2 separate regions of the Homo sapiens genome follow, and region 2 is linked to region 1. The links are contacts of gene promoters, found by promoter capture Hi-C in blood cells and fetal thymus (Javierre and others, 2016). All regions are on one chromosome and are shown on one strand. The core of a region is centred on a gene start or on the middle of the fragment in contact, and the rest is flanking DNA. Distances in the headings are between cores, read along the strand shown.

Region 1 (5,228 bases), core at 2,641-5,140:
TTCAGGGTCATGTTGCCAGGAACTTCTCCCTGCTGCAGACAGCAGCCATGTCTAAACCACTCTGCTTTCTGCCTGCCTGAGTTTCGCTACTTCATATTTTATGCCTGCTTTGGGGTTTTTATTGGATAGCATTACCTTATCATGAATGGGAGGAGTGGGTCTTTCCCAGTAAGTGATGAGAGATTGGCATCCTTGTGAGGCAGGCTTGGTGTAATAAAGAGGATCCAGGGTTCTAATCCCTCCTTTGCCTTTTACTTACAGTGTGACCTTGAGAAATTCCTTCTCTGTCTTTGAGACTTAGCTTCCTTATCTACAACATGCAAGGCTCACTGTGCCTGTCTTCCTGGGTAGATGTGGGGAGACAATGAAATACATATGCATAGAAGTCCAGGCATTTCCCTTCACACATGGCAGGCATTCAGAAAATCTTATCGAAAAATAAAAAATTTCTAAGGTCCAGTGGAGATCCTGACCTTTTGATTATACTAGAGCTAAAAATGAAGCTGATAAGGTGCCCCAGGTCCAAAAAAGTTCAGTCCTCCTAGGCAACAAAGTGTCCTTCTTATTCTAATTGATGCCCTTTTTATTTTAAGTGTGACTGAAACATTTTTCTAGGGTAAATTGAGTTCACAGGTGTCGAGTCTATTCCCTGTGATTCCTCAGTGGTAGGATGGGAGGAGAAAAAAAAAATCACATTGAAACATACCTTTTGCATAGAGCAATGTAAAAAACACACATCCAAAGATGCAAATGCCAAGAACAGAAGAGCCTCAATTTCTGGGAATCCTTTGGCTGGATTCTGTTACTTTTTCTATTTTTCCATGTGCGACATACGGCACCCTCCTTTTTCTGAGTATTTCTGGAATAACTTGTCATTTGGGGAGTCTGGGATCCAGAATCACTTGGGTTAGAGCAGAACAGTCATGAGTCTAAACTCCAGCCCTCTCTTTTACTTTGGAGAGTTACTTGACAAATCTTTTGCACCTATGGAATAAACATCATAGTCACTTATCTCAGAGTTTGCTTAAAGATTAGAAAAATAATATAAATGAAGTCCTTAATAGATGTGCTTAAGAAAGAATGTTCACTAGTGGTATCAATTATTGTTGGAAAGGCACAATTATCACATTTTCGATCTAGGAAAAAGTCTAAGGCAATGTAATCCATTGCTTTCATTTCATGTCTAAAGAAACTGAGGCTTAGGAAGGGAGTTAGGACTAATCAAAGGTCACCCCATTAGTTTGTAGAACCCAGGTTTCTTGATCTCCACTGGGATTTCCTAGCCATAGAAACACCATTGTATATAAAAGTGTCACCAATGAGCAAATAGCAGAAAGCCAAGCCATGAATAAATTTATGACAGTCTTCTAACTTAGATGCCATCTGCAGAAAACTGGAAATTTGGGCAAGTCTCCTAACTACCACTGGTATGCCTAATCATTAATCCCTGTTGGGTTTCAGAATGCCCTGGAGATTTTGTTGTCATTTGATTCATCAATCGGAAAATGAGTCTCAGTTTTTGGCGATGCAGTTTCATAGCAAATTTGGAAAGATGTGATTATTACCCTCTATTTCATGTCCTTCCAAGGAGCTGGTCCAGGGTAAATAGGTGCACATCTTTGAATCAAGAGTCATGAATAGGTGCATTATTACTGAGTGGACTTAAGTTCCTAATGTTCACTATGAATAATGAGTCTAATGTGAAATCTTAATGCATTTAAGGTAGATATGATGTTCTTTTAAAAATGAATTTTCAGGGCCGGGCGTGGTGGTTCACGCCTACAATCCCAATACTTTGGGAGGCCAAGGCAGGCAGATCACCTGAGGTCAAGAGTTCGAGACCAGCCTGGCCAACATGGTGAAACCCCATCTCTACTAAAAATACAAAAATTAGCCGGGCGTGGTAGTGGGCGCCTGTAATCCCAGCTACTCAGGAGGTTGAGGCAGGAGAATTACTTGAACCTGGGAGGCAGAGGTTGCAGTGAGCCGAGATCACACCACTGCACTCCAGCCTGAGCTATAAAGGAAGGCACTACCTCAAAAAAAGAAAAAAAATTATCCGGGCCAGGTGCAATGGCTCATGCCTGTAATCCCAGTACTTTGGGAGGCCCAGGCAGGAGGATCCCTTGAGCTCAGGAGTTTGAGACCAGCCTAGACAATATGGCAAAACCCCATCTCCACCAAAAATACAAAAATTAGCCAGTCTCATAACCTGGTCTCAAAATAAATAAGTAAATAAATAAAATTTTAAAAAATTAAATTAAAAAATGAATTATCTGTATCATGGGGAATGGTTAATGCTCACATTTTTGTGGAATATGTGAGGGAATGGTGAGGGCCGAACTATGCCGTTAGCGGTCAAAAGAGGTTTTGTATCAGGACAAATAGGATGTCTTGAAGAAAAACTACAGCTACCATCAAGTAGCACTCTAGGAAAAGGTAAAAAGGAGGAAAAAAGCAAGTATTTATTGAATACCTACTACGTGCCACACATTTTACCACACTTAAAAAATTATTACTCAATTATGTTACTTTTCTTTTCTTTCTTTTTTTTTTTTTTTTACTGTGTCCCAGGCTTCTTTATTTAAGAAAAAAGTGATACATGATGTGGGATTAAAATCAAGAGCATCATTGAACTTCACCTTCCCTCCAACCAGTTGCCCCAAACTCCCCTGCCCCCACCCTTAGTGTTCCCAATTCCTTCCTTAGTGAATGAAGAACTTAATCCCAAAAGCCCTGCCACAAACTCCAGGTTCTCTTTCCCTAGCTCCTCCCCTCCCCTGTTCCCCATTCCTAGAAGGGCAGGCACCTCAGTTTGAATGCATGGGAGAGCCCAGAGTGATGACGGAGACTGGGGGAAAGACTTCCCCCTCAGGGAAAGGGACTGAGGAGTACAGTGCAGTGAAGTGAGGGCTCCCATAGCCTGGGGTACCAAAATGGGGCCCTGGGGCCGGAGGAAAGGACACTGGTCCCCCTGAGAAAGGAGACCCAGCAGCCTCAAAATCCTCTCGTTGTGCATAGTCGCTGCTTGATCGCTTGCCCTTCTGGCGCCGGTTACAGAACCACACTCGGACCACATCCTTCTCGAGCCCAAGCTGCTGGGCGATGTGGCTGATCTGCAGTGTGGGTTTCGGGCACTGCAGGAACAAATTCTCCAGGTTGCCTCTCACTCGGTTCTCGATACTGGTTCGCTTTCTCTTTCGGGCCTGCATGAGGGTTTCTGCTTTGCATATCTCCTGAAGATTTTCATTGTTGTCAGCTTCCTCCACCCACTTCTGCAGCAAGGGCCGCAGCTTACACATGTTCTTGAAGCTAAGCTGCAGAGCCTCAAAGCGGCAGATGGTCTTTTGGCTGAACACCTTCCCAAATAGAACCCCCAGGATGAGCCCCACATCGGCCTGTGTATATCCCAGGGTGATCCTCTTCTGCTTCAGGAGCTTGGCAAATTGCTCGAGTTCTTTCTGCAGAGCTTTGATGTCCTGGGACTTCTCCGGGTTTTGCTCTAGCTTCTCCTTCTCCAGCTTCACGGCACCAGGGGGGACGGTGCAGGGTTCCGGGGAGGCCCCATTGGAGTTGCTCTCCACCCCGACTCCTGCTTCGCTCTCAGGCTGAGAGGTCTCCAAGCCGCCTTGGGGCACTAGCCCCACTCCAACCTGAGGCCCACAGTACGCCATCCCCCCACATAACTCATACGGCGGGGGGCAAGGGGGAATCCCCCACACCTCAGAGCCTGGCCCAACCCCCGGCCCGATTCCTGGCCCTCCAGGAGGGCCTTGGAAGCTTAGCCAGGTCAGAGGATCAACCCAGCCCGGCTCCGCCCCCCATGGCCCATCACCCCCACCGCCTGGAGGGGGCGAGAAGGCGAAATCCGAAGCCAGGTGTCCCGCCATGGGGAAGGAAGGCGCCCCAAGCCGGGGGCCTGGTGAAATGAGCAATTATGTTACTTTTCATTGAAAGCTCTGTGACCGTATGGCTGTGTGTGTCATACGCTCACTAGCAATGAACACAGTGCCTGAAGCATCATTAAATGTTGACTGAATGTGTTAGGAACTCTTCAAAAGTAATCTCTTTAAATCATAATCACCTGTGAATTGACAATTATTATCTTCACTTTGTGGATAAGAATGCCAAGATTTGGAAATGTTGAATAATGTGTCCATTGTGTCAGTGGCCGATCTGAAATTCCAGTGTAGGCACCATGATTCCTGAGTCCATTCTGCTTCTGCCATACCATGATGCTAGATTCTTCATGGGAGCCATCTACTTGTGTTCTGTGCTATGGAATGGTGTGTCCTTCTTTCTGATTCTTATTTCCTGCAGATTGTGGGGAAACGGTTCTACCATTAACAACCAAAGGCAAAATGGGCTGCAACCAAAGAAATTCCCTGACCTAATTCTTTATAGTTGGTGACAAGTGTGCTGTAGTGACGGGAAATAGCACTCTATGAAGATTTAATAGTGCAAATTCTACCCTCCTGACAACCCCTTTCTTCAGCACTGGATGGGTGTATTAGTTGTTTATCATTGTGTAATAGATCACCTCAAAACTTAATAGCTTAAAAACAACTAACACATAGCTCACAGTTTTGTAAAATAGCAATTGTGGTGTGGCTTAACTGGGTATCCTGGATAAGGGTATTTCATGAGGTTGTGGTCAAGATGAGAGCAGGGGATGTTGTCATCTGGGAGCCTAACGGGGGCTGGAGGATCCACTTTCCAAAATGTCTCACTTACTTGGCTGTTGGCAAAGGCCCCGGTTTCTTGTTGGCTGTTGGTAGGAGGCCTCAGTTGCTCACCATGTGGGCTTTTCCATAAAGCTGCTTGAGTGTCCTCACAACATGTCAGCTGGATTCACCCAGAGAGAATGACCTAAGAAAGAGAGAGCAGGGAAGAAGCCACTGCGTTCTTTATGACCTAGTCTCTGAAATCGCACACTTTTACTTGTGCCATATTTTATTCATTAGAAGTGAGTCACATTCTGTAGGAGGGTAATTAGCCTTCACCATTTGGCAGGAGGACTATCAAATAATTGGTGGGCATATTGTAAAGCTATCATAATGGTTCTGGTAGGCCATGTTTTTGCCTCTGCCACTCAAATATTGGATGTCCATTTCTTAAAGGGATTGTGAAAAGAGAAGGGGCTTTAGAATAAGACAGGCAAATGTTTAAACATTGAGTAAATTTTTAATGTCCTTAACCCTTGTTTCTCAACCATAAAATGAGAATGA
Region 2 (5,869 bases), core at 3,179-5,678, 2.3 Mb before region 1:
CTGGCCCAGAGGCACAGTCATTCATTTGACCTTCCTTCTGCTGTGTCTGTGTGAAGACCCCCACTCCAAACTACTTCAATGGCAAGAGGCGACTGGGAACAGCTGGGAACTGTTGTTAGCTTCTGGCAACATCCTGGAATTTCTTCCTTGTGGATCCTGTGCCCCTGAGCTGCTGGGGGCCCCTGACTTGACCTGGAGTTGAACTTAGCTGAAGGGTCCAGGGCTAGGGGTTGCCTCCTTGTCAGCCCTGATAGTAGCATGAAATTACACAGTCTTTCCAAGAAAGCCGAGGCTGCCTTTCTAGCCATTCCTGGGGTGGAAAGACTATCAGAGGCTATGTTTTCGGCAAATCCATTCATGTTTTCCAAGGGCAGGATAGTGCAGGAGAGAGTGACCAGATAAGACACTCGCTTTTGTTCACAAACACCCTGAGGAGGTCCCTTAAGAGATAGCAAAGCTTCTGGTGGGGATGAGGCAGAGAAGGTTTGCTTCAGATAAGATGCTAGTCGAGGGACAATTGTTGTTTTCAAGGGAGGAGATACAAAACATCCGTTAATGGGGTTTGTCCAAGGATGAACTTTTCATTCACAGAATTAGAGAATGGGGAGTTGCAGCAATTCTACTCTAACTCTTTCTTTTAAAACACAAGCAAAAAGAGGCCAAGAGAGGGGAGGTGACTTTATCTAGATCCCACAGCAAGTCAGGAGTAAAGCTCTGTGTAGGGTTGGATGCTCTGACATAAAGTCCACTGCTTTTAACTACTAAGTCCCAATATTTCACCTCTCCATCTTGTCATTTCTCTATGTCTTTATTTATTAACGAGTCCATCCACCCATTCATGCATTCCTTTATGTGTTTGCTCATCAATGTTTATTCAGAGTACAGAGATGACTGACAGTTCCTCAAGGAATGGATGATGTCATGGAGGAGCCGCCCATGAATGTATAGCAGAGGGACTAGTCAAGCAGCGTGGGAGAGGCAGAGACAGGGCATTATCACGGTGAGATTGAAGAAGGCTTCATAGGGAGGATGGCTCTGGAGCTGAGTCTTAAGGTGGAAAAGGATTGCATTTGTTGAATAAGAGGAGAAACGCTTTAGCACCGTACTTTTAGAAGTGGCATGAAGAATGAATTGAAGAAGTGAGACGTTGGCACCAAAGAGATGAGTTATAGCAGTTGGTTCATTCCACAAATCAGCGATACATGCTTCATGTCTTCAGAGGCCATCCATGGTGTTGGCCACTGTGGGGATGTCAAGTTGTAAAGACCTGGACCCTTTCCTTAAGGAGCTGAACTTGCCAAAACACAAATGTGCTCAAATAACATAATGAAACGCAAAATGAACACAGGACTAGAAACTGTGAGCTCTGGATTTTAGTCTCGCTCTGGTATTGATCTCCATGGTGTTTTGGGGCCTTGAATATTTCCTTACCTGTGAGATGGTGAGGTTAGGTCTGCCTTCCTGTCCCAGGGAAAAGGCAAAGGCAGTGTCCATCTCTAGCCTATTCCTTCTTGGTTGTATGATCATGAGAAGTCATTTCATCACACTGGAGCTCAAGTCCTCATTTTTAATGTGGGGGGAGTAAAAGCTTGTCCCACGGAGTGTGAGGATGATCTAAAACAGCTGCAGGAGAGTACAGAGCATGCTACCTGGAAGAGAGTCAGCCTCTAACAAATGCTCATTCTTTGTCCCACACTCCCATGGCTCTGTTTTTTCTTGGAAGGGGTGAATGGAATCAAGGATGGTAATACATATGAAATCTCGTTAAAATAGGAAGTGCCCTCCATAAATGCCAGGGGAATCCCATGTAGATTTCTACATAGGAGAGTCTGGGGGGGCTCTTAAGGCTGATCTCTGGGAGGATCTGTGCCTCTCCTAGTGTCCTGTCTTTCTTCTGGTTCTAAGTCTCTGGACAGGCCTTCCCCAGGAGGGCTCCTTGGTCAAAGGAACTCCTTTCCCAGAAGCATGCAGAAGGTGACAGGCACAAACACAAAGACAGACTGTCCTTGGCTTTCTGGAGCAGAGATAGCTTCAGACATTCTGCCTCACTCTTATGGGGACCTGTCAGCCCAGTTCTTGGGTCAGAAAATGGGTTCATGGTAGGTTAACCTAAGCCACAACCAGTAACGACTACTTTTCTCTAATGGTTCATCAAAGCCTTTTGACCCTTCCTTCTCCATTGCTCTACCATCCACCTCCACTGTTCCAGCCTTCCTGCAGCTCCCACGTACTGCATGCCTTCGTCACTTCCTGCTTTGCCTCTGGCGCTAGCGTCCGACTGTTCTTCCCTTCTTCCAGTCCACCTTTCTCACCACAACTAAAAGAACGTTTCTGCTTTGATCACATGATTGCCGTGGAAGTGAAACATGCAGAGAACCCCAAGGGGTGAGGAGGCTGCAGCCCTTTATTTGGCTGGACTTTGTCTTGAGAGCTTCTCTGCCCTTGCTTTGCTTTGTTTATATAGAAACAGGTATTTCGTTATAATTCCTTTTTTTTTCTGCAGAAAGATTAAGTGCAAACACTTGGCATTCAAGGCAACCCCTCAGGGAATCCAGCTTTTCCAGCTTTCTATGACAAACTCCTTCAAGTACATTGTAGTGATTAAGGGCATGGACTTTCAATCCTGACTATGTTCAAGTCTTACCTCTGCTGCCTATCAGCTATGTGATCTTGGGCAAGTTACTTAACCTCTCTATGCTTTGACTTCCTTATCCATACTTTGGGAATAATAATACTCCATACCTCACAGGGTTATTGTGAGGGTTAAATGAGATTATCTATATAAAGTTCTTAGAACTTTGCTTAGCACAGTAAGTACTCAATAAGTTCTATCCATTCCAGAAACCTCCACCCTAGCTAAATTCATCTCTGTTAACAGCCGCACATGTGCTTTTGACTTTCCTGCCTCTGTGATTTCAGCTGCTCCTTTCACCTGCCTGCAATGATCCCTCTCTTTCCTTTTGGCTTTATCCAAGCTCTCCTTGTCCTCTATTGCTAAGGAAACTCAAGCAATTTCTCAGGACCTCTATGGCTAAGGAAACTCAGGTAATTGTTCAGGAGAACGAGACAGAACTCACCCTGGTTCCTACAGCTGAGTTACTGTGGGAGGTCACCTGGCTTCTCCACATTTCAGCCTTCCCCTTGGTGAAGTGCAGATACTTAACACAGACCTTGTGAAGTCATTGAAAGAAAAATTCTCAAATTCTGGCAGATAGTAGGTATTTAATGAATGATAGATATTATTAAGCCAAGCTAGTCCTTCCTACCTGAACTTTTCCCTCTGAACTCTTCTAGTAATTATTGATTCCATCATTTATCTGGTCATTCATTGACCATGTAGTACTTTGTATCACCTCATCTTTTCTTTCTTTTTGTCCTGCTTGGAATGATTACTGTAATCTTATGACTGCTTAGTTTTTTAAACATGCATAGTATCCTCCTCACTGCATTGGGGTTTCCTGGCGGGAAGACCCTGCACAGACATTTGTAACGTGACCAGAGTTTTAATGTGCAATCCCTCCATGCTAGCAGCTTGGTGAGGTGCTTACATTTTGTAGGACTTCATAGGCTTTTTGCTGTGGTATGTCGGCCTGGTACAGCCCAGGGCTTTGAGGCTGCAGCTCTCTCTTAAGTGTTTATTTTTTGCACCTTTGCCTTTGGGCGATGGACTCCCCCACCTAAAGCTTTGGACTTTTCCTGGCTGCCTCATTGACCAGTTGTGAGGCTGACACCAGCCTGTGAGTCCAGAGCTGGGTCAGAGCAGATAAGGGCTTGTTCTCAGAACCAGCATGGTGATCACTGTGTGTCTTCTCCTTATTTTCTTCTCTGTGAAAACATGTGCCTCGTAATTTGTGTTCTGAGAAATATCTCAACGGTCCTGTGCCCTAAACATTTCCTCATCTGAGATAAGGCCTGGATGTTGGCTCTAAGGAGGGAAAAAGGTACAGTGGAGAGGAAGTTCTGATCAGCAGGAAGATTTCCCAAGCAACGACACCGCCTCTGGCAGCAATGGCCTAGAAACTGGGCTGCCTTGGTGCAGACCGAGACCAAGGCCATTCCCAAAGGAGAGGCTGACAGCATTGCCCAGGCATCCTCTTCCCTGCCAGGCATGGACCTTCTGAGGGATGTGGGGGCTACTGCACCTAGAGAGAGGCACTGGAGCCTGAGAAATCAGTGCTTTGAGGCCTCAGTGGTGGGGCTGGTGGCTGAGGCTGCTACTGGTGGAGTTGACGGGCCCTGGATAAGACCCAGAGTTCAAGATTCTGGTCTTGGCCATCAGTTCCTCACTGTGTGATCCTGGGCATGTCACTTAATCTCTTTGGAACCCAGTTTCTTGCCTAGAAAATAAGTATGTCTTATCAGTGGTTTTAAATTTTTAATTATTTAAAAAATCATCAGAATGCTTTAGAACTTTTTTTTCCAAAAAGAATTGTATGCATATTCCCAGTTGATACAACAGATAAAAAGAACAGTCCTGTATGGAGGAGTTTGGGCCACCAGGGGCCTGTGCCCAGGTCCTTCCTGTCATTCCATGCTGCCATGCCTGTTCTGTTCCCCGGGACATGTTCATGCAAACCTGGCTTCCCCAACACATTTTAAGCCCTCTGGACTAGCTTTGTCCCCAGCTTTGTGTTCTGGGCCTACCAGTCAGCTTGGCTGATTTTCCCCAGGTCAGTGGTGATGGGAGAGCAGTGCTGGTGTGCGGAGAGAGGGCAAATATTTCACCAAAGGACCAAGTCCCAGACAAATCAGAGAGGATGCTGGTCAGTGTGCATTGGTTGAATATCAGTACCAGTTTTGTGTCAGAATGAGCTGTGAAATTTTTAACAAATACACCCTTCAGGGTCTATCCAGCTTCACTTGAATCAAAATTTGGGGCTATTATTTTGAAAAATAGGAAATAGGTATGTGCAGCCCCTCCTCCTAACAAATAGGCAACCCCAAATCAAAATACTAAAACCTTGATTCTGGAGCTTTGGATGGGTGGGTGGTCTCCAGGAGGTATCGTCAGAATAAAAGGGGTCTTAAGTTAACTTGGAGCATGGCAAGGGCAAGAATAACACCAATAATATGATGAAGTACTTACTCTGGAATAGGTTCCATGCTTAACATACCATGAAATAGGTGGATACTAGTTTCCTAGGGCTGTTTTAACAAATGACCACAAAGCTTCATGGCTTAAAAAATCCCCCAGAAATTTTTTTGCTTAGAGTCCTGGAGGCCAGAGTACAAACTCAAGGTGCTGGCAGGGCCACACTCACTCTGATGGCTCTAGAGGGGACTTTGTCTTAGCCTCTTTCAGCTTAGGGAGGTTCCAGGCATTCTGTGGCTTGTGGCTGGATAACTCCTACCTCTACCTTCATCTTTCTTTGCGTGGACTTTTCTTCTTCTCCTGGTGTCTGTCTTTCTGCGGTCATAAGGACATTTGTCACTGGATTTAGAGACAACCTAGATAATATAGGATGATCTCATCTCAAGAACCTTTACATAATTACATCTGCCAAGACCTTTTTATCAAATATGGTCACGTTCAGAGGTCCTAAGGATTAAGATGTGGACACAGGTATTGAGTGAGGGACAGCATTTAACCCCAACTTGTTATTAACACCAACTTAAAGATGAGAAAGCCCAGGTCTAGTCCATGGAGGTAACCTGCCCATGGCCACACCGCTGGTGAGTGGCAGAGCTGGGCTGGGACTCACCCTCAGGTCTGCTTTATGCTTGTCTTCTACAGAGCCTGTCACACAGACGTCCAGGGAGTATGTGGACCAGGCAGATGCAGGACAATCATTGGTGCCAGCTTGCAAGACTCTGCCTTGCCTACAGAGGGTGCTCAATGCCTGTCTGTTAGAGAGGTAGTTCTTGATTC

What was found. Contacts are between HindIII fragments. The CHiCAGO score rates a contact against its expected background, and 5 or more counts as called.
Region 2: a contact is called between a fragment that was not itself captured here and the fragment with the promoter of POU5F1B in region 1, in 1 of 17 cell types (M0 macrophages). The highest score is 8.1, in M0 macrophages.

Annotation. Positions count from the first base shown.
Region 1 is chr8:127,414,529-127,419,756 of GRCh38, reverse strand. It overlaps POU5F1B (POU class 5 homeobox 1B), which reads right to left and starts at 3,890. Exons shown (of 1, transcript NM_001159542.3): 1 at 2,811-3,890. The coding sequence starts at 3,890. The coding sequence ends at 2,811. All of the region lies in intron 5 of CASC8 (cancer susceptibility 8), which reads left to right. The HindIII fragment of the contact is 3,513 bases long and covers 3,783-5,228 here.
Region 2 is chr8:129,687,541-129,693,409 of GRCh38, reverse strand. No RefSeq gene overlaps it. Among named protein-coding and RNA genes, the nearest start is that of CCDC26, 10 kb to the right of the region's middle. RefSeq lists a silencer at 259-501, cis regulatory regions at 193-952, 3,716-4,050 and enhancers at 1-1,985, 2,838-5,050. The HindIII fragment of the contact is 1,486 bases long and covers 3,686-5,171 here.